Regions from separate parts of the Homo sapiens genome. Here region 2 is linked to region 1. The links are contacts of gene promoters, found by promoter capture Hi-C in blood cells and fetal thymus (Javierre and others, 2016). All regions are on one chromosome and are shown on one strand. Each heading gives the region's core, a stretch centred on a gene start or on the middle of the fragment in contact. The rest is flanking DNA. Distances are from core to core; before and after follow the strand shown. Region 1 holds the start of FBXO33 (F-box protein 33). Region 2 has its middle 14 kb from the start of DORIP1.

Evidence for each region. The method cuts DNA at HindIII sites, captures the fragments that hold promoters and counts their contacts. A CHiCAGO score of 5 or more calls a contact.
Region 2: a contact is called between a fragment that was not itself captured here and the fragment with the promoter of FBXO33 in region 1, in 7 of 17 cell types (total B cells, non-activated CD4 T cells, total CD4 T cells and 4 more). The highest score is 14.4, in total B cells.

The regions. Positions count from the first base shown.
Region 1 is chr14:39,431,130-39,433,800 of GRCh38, reverse strand. FBXO33 (F-box protein 33) reads left to right here and starts at 1,368. Exons shown (of 4, transcript NM_203301.4): 1 at 1,368-2,237. The coding sequence starts at 1,639. It overlaps LOC105370461 (a long non-coding RNA gene), which reads right to left and starts at 1,362. Exons shown (of 8, transcript XR_007064121.1): 1 at 1,282-1,362. RefSeq lists silencers at 770-939, 1,680-1,809, 2,250-2,379 and an enhancer at 1,330-1,579. The HindIII fragment of the contact is 7,836 bases long and covers 1-2,671 here.
Region 2 is chr14:44,882,118-44,884,788 of GRCh38, reverse strand. No RefSeq gene overlaps it. Among named protein-coding and RNA genes, the nearest start is that of DORIP1, 14 kb to the left of the region's middle. The HindIII fragment of the contact is 724 bases long and covers 932-1,655 here.

The DNA.
Region 1 (2,671 bases), core at 119-2,618:
GTTTCATCCTGCCGAACCCACGACTGGGGTCGCCCTCTAAGAGTTCATTAAAATTAATAAGGTATAATTACCTAAAACTCTTGTAAACAGGGGCTCGAATAAGTAACCTATCACAATTGATAAACCACACCATGTTGTTGGCAACCTGATATGTGCAAGGCATTAAACGGAGAGCTTTGCCCTCAAAGGGTTAAGAACATCTAGAATGGGGGTCTCCTCTTTCGTCTTGGGAGCCCCCTCCGTCTGTCTCTGTAGTGGGGAGCTTCTTCCTTCAGCCTTCTTCCTTCTTTCTTGCCTATTAAATTCTCCGCTCCTTAAAACCAAAAAAAAAAAAAAAAGTCCAAAAAGTCTTGGTGTTTACCACAAAAGAACGATGCTATTCCAACATCACAGCCTCCCTAAAGCAACTCTCAATTATTACATAAAGAGGCAGCCTCCCTAAAGCAACCCTCGATTATTACATAAAGTCACTTAATCTTTTCTGACTTCACCACTCTTTGCAACCAGAGTTTACTTTGCAGTAGGCTGTGGTGAAGTTAGGGACATGGTTTGGAAAATCTAAGTTAGGGATACCAGGCAAAAAAAGAAGAAGAAGAAAGAAAAAAAATCAAAGCTCTGTCATTACTGTGAACTTTTCAACGAGAGCCTTAAATCTCAGCACAGGGAAAAGAGACCCTTCCTCAAGCCCTGGAGAAGAGGCTGGTCACAACCTGCGGATCTCAGATCCCTTTGCCAATTTTTTTCTCTCCCTCTGAATCCAAAGGGTGACGCTGTCCTCACTGCTTCCCCACACACCAGCGAGTGCGCGGAAGTCCACCTGCGTGGTTGGACCGAGGGGGCAGGTCCATTCGCGGCCTCCGCCACGCCCCACACCGCCCCTCCCGGCACAGCCCGCCGGGGTTAGCCCGCCCGTCCGCCAGCTCCCTCTCAGCGGCGCAATCTCAGGAATTCTTAACCCTACTCTGGGCAGGTGGGATGGCTGAGAAAGACCCTGCATGCCGCCACTTTGGCTCAGGGTCCTCAGCCCAAACTGAGAAACGTTTTACAAAGAAGCGTGACGACCTTTCGCACTAAACCAGAGTACCGCCACCTCCATCGACCGAGCGCCAAAATTAACCGACTTACAGATGTGACTGGGCGCAGCGGCCACCGTAAGGCGTAAGGGGTGCCAAGTGCCGGTTCCAGTCCCGCCCAGCCCCGCCCCGCCCCGCCCCGCCCAGCCCCGCCCCGCCCCGCGGCCTGCGTGCGTCAGAGATCACGTGCCGCGCCTCCCGTCCCTACAGGCAATCGGGCGCTCCCCTCTTCCGGAAGTCGCGCCGGTGCGCGCCGGACTCCTCCCACCAGCGGCGACGTCAAACTCAGCTCCTACCACTTCTCTGTCTCTGCCGACCGGCGCAGGGAGGGCTGCCTTTTCCTTACAGTACGCCTTGAGGCTTCCGGGCCGCTGAAGTTTACGAGCGAGGGCAGTGCAGTTACTCAGTGTGCCGGCCTCGGACGCACGTGAGTAGAGTTTGAGAAGACAGAGGCTGGCTCCCGGCAGGCCACGCCCGCAGAGGCCTTTCCCCCTCTCCACAACTTGTGTTCTACTTGGTTCCGCCGAGACCCACGACGGTTCCGCCCCCTTCTTCCTAGTCATTGATGTTGTTGTTCTTGTCAGTGCCGCAGCCCCGACCGCCGGGAGCTCGAACCCGAGCCGGGGCCGCCCGGGTGGCGCGGTGGCGGCGGCTGCGGCTGCAGCAGCTGCGACGGCTGCGGGGGCTGCTCCGGGTACTGCGGGGGCGGCCGGGAGCCGGCAGCCGGCGGCGGGGCCGGATGGCTCTGTGCGGGCAGGCGGCGGGCGCTGCGTCGCTGCCCAGCGAGCTGATCGTGCACATCTTCTCTTTTCTGCCGGCGCCCGACCGGCTGCGGGCCTCGGCCTCCTGCTCGCACTGGCGTGAGTGCCTCTTCTATCCGGCCCTGTGGCCCCAGCTCCGCATCTGCCTCCGCGTCTCGCCCGCGGAGCAGCCTCGGCTGGAATTCCTCATGCGCAAGTGCGGCTGGTTCGTGCGAGAGCTGCGTGTTGAATTCGCCGCCGAGAACTATCTGAGCGGCGGTGGCCCAGGGGACGGAGGTGGCGCGGACACCGGGACTGGAGGGGAGGAAGTCGAGGCCCTGCAGCTCTCAGCTCGTTGGCTGGAAGTGCTGCGCACCTACTTGGAGCTGGTGCTTTGCGTGCTGGTCAGCATCCGGAACAACAGGTAGGCTTGCCCTGAGCCCCGCCCCGCCCGGTAACGGGGGGTCGCTCCGTCCCCGCACCCCGACACAGATTCTGTGCATAATACGTGCCCGGCCAACTTCAGTGTTGCCTTCCTCAGTGACGGAGAGTGTTGGTTCTAACTAGGCGGTTTCCTTGAGCGGAAAGGCATAACGGGACTCATCACGATACTTTATAAACAGTGGTGGACGGGGTGTTTAACAGACACCACTTCTGGCGCCTTCCAGGCACTCATTCATCCTCTTGGTGGCCGTGGGATGGAGCTGACAGGCGCTGTCACTTTTCATTTTATATATGGGAGCGTTAAGACTGGGAGGGTGAGGCCTGTGGGTGAGCCTTGGAAGAAACAAAACATACACATAACACGATTTTCTGACTCTGAATCTGTTAGAAATAGTTCATGGTGAGGGAAGGAGT
Region 2 (2,671 bases), core at 44-2,543, 5.5 Mb before region 1:
ATGTACCACATTTTCTTTATCTAGTCATCTATGGATGGACACTTAGGTTGCTTCTGAATCTTGCAAAAGATGTGTTGTGAATAGTACTGCAACAAACATGGGAGTGCAGATATCTCTTCAGTATACTGATTTCCTTTCTTTGGGGTATATACCTAGCTGTGGGATTGCTGGATCATATGGTAGCTCTATTTTTAGTGTTTCTTTTCTTTCTTTCTTTTGTTTTTTTTTGAGACAGGGTCCCACCCTGTCATTCAGGCTGGAGTGCAGTGGTACCATTTCGGCTTACTGCAACCTCCACCCCCTGAGGTCTAGCGATCCTCCTGCTGCACCTTCCCTAGTAACTGGGACTACAGCTGTGCACCACTATGTTCAACTAATTTTTGTATTTTTTTTGTAAAGATGGGTTTCGCCATGTTTACCAGACTCATCTCAGACTCCTGGACTCAAGTGATACACCTGCCTCGGCCTCCCTTCTCCCCATGCCTGGCCTATTTTTAGTTTTGTAATGATCCTCCAAACTGTTCTCCATAGTGGTTGTACTAATTTACATTCTCACCAACAATGTAAGAGGGTTCCCTTTTCTTCACATTCTTACCAGCATTTGTTATTGCCTGACTTTGCATAAAAGCCTTTTTAACTGGGGTGAGATGACATCTTACTGTAGTTTTGATTTGCATTTCTCTAATGATCAAAGATGTAGAGCACCTTTTTATATACTTGATTGCCATTTGTAAGTATTTTTTGAGAAATATCTAGTCAGGTCTTTTGCCCAGTTTTAAATCCGATTATTAGATTTTTTTCCTATAGAGTTGTTTGAGTTCCATATACTGGTTATTAATCCATTGTTAGATGAGTAGTTTGCATATATTTTCTCACACTCTGTAGGTTGTCTCTTCACTTTTTTGATTGTTTCTTTTGCTGTGCAGAAGCTTTTAAACTTGATGTGATCCCATTTGTCCATGTTTGGTTTGGTTGCCTGTGCTTGTGCTTACTCAACAAATATGCCCAGTCTGATGTCCTGGAGAGTTTCCCTAGTGTTTTCTGGTAGTAATTTCATAGTTTGAGGTCTCAGATTTAAGTCTTCAGTCCATTTCGATTTGATTTTTGTAGATGGTGAGAGATAGGGATCTAGTTTTATTCTTTTGCATGTGGATATCAAGTTCTCCCAGCACCATTTATTAAAGAGATTGTACTTTCTCCAGTGTACATTCTTGGCAGTTTTGTCAAAAAAGAGTTTATTGTAGCTGTATGGATTTATCTCTGGGATCTTTATTCTGTTCCACTGATCTATGTGTGTATTTTTATGACAGTACCGTGTTGTTTTGGTTACTATAGCTCTGTAGGATTATTTAAAGGCAGGTGATGTGATTCCTCCACTTTTTTTTTTTTTTTTTTTTTTTTGCTTACAATAGGTTTGTCTATTCTGAGTCTTTTGTGGTTCCATGTAAATTTTAGGATTGTTTATTCTATTTCTGTAAGGAAGGTCATTGGTATTTTGATAGAGATTACACTGAATCTGTAGATTGCTTCGAGTAATATGGACATTTTAACGATTTTGATTCTTCCAATACATGAACATGAAATATCTTTCCATTTTTTTGGTTTATTCTTCAATTTCTTGCATTAATGTCTTAATAGTTTTCATTGTATAAGCTTTTCACTTTTTTGTTTAATTCCTGGGTATTTATTTGTAGCTATTGTAAATGGGACAGCTTTCTTGATTTCTTTTTCAGATTGTTCAATGTTGGCATATAGAAATGCTTCTGCTGATTTTGTATGTTGATTTTATAACCTCCAACTACTGAATTTGTTTATCAGTTTTAATAATTTTTTTGTAAAGTCTTTGGTTTTTCTAAATATAAGATCATAGCATCTGCACGCAAGGATCATTTGAACTCTTGATTTGCAATTTGGATCCCCTTCATTTCTTTCTTTTCTGATTGCTCTAGGTAGGACTTCCAGTACTACGTTGAAAAAAAGTTGTGAAAGTGGGCATCCTTGTCATGTTCTTGATCTTAGAGGAAAGGCTTTCAGTTTTTCCCCATTGAGTATGATTCTAGCTATGGGTTTGTTACATATGGCTTTTATTTTGTTGAGGTATGTTCCTTCTATTTCCAATTTTTTTGAGGGTTTTTTTTTAATCTTGAAGGGATGTTGAATTTTATCAAATGCTTTTTCAGCATCAGTTGAAATGATCATATGGTTTTTGTCCTTCATTGTGTTGATATAATGTATCACATTAATTGATCTACATATGTTGAACTATCCTTGCATTCCTTGGCAAACTCTACTTGGCTGTAATGAATGACCTTTTTAATGTTTTGTCAATTTTGCTTTCCTAGTATTTTGTTGAGGATTTTTGCATCAATATTTATCAGTGATATTGGCATATAGTTTTCTTTTTTTTGATGTGGTGTTGTCTGGTTTTGGTAACGGGGTAATACTGGCCTCATAGAATGAGTTTGGAAGTAGTCTTTCCTCTTCTATTTTTCAGAATAGTTTGAGTACGATTAATATTAGTTCTTTAAATGTTAGGTAGAATTTAGCAGTGAAACTATAAAATCCAGGGCTTTTATTCACTGGGAGTCTTTTTATTATGGCTTTGATCTCATTACTTGTTAATGGTCTGTTCAGGTTTTAGATTTCTTCATAGTTAAGTCTTTGTAGGTTG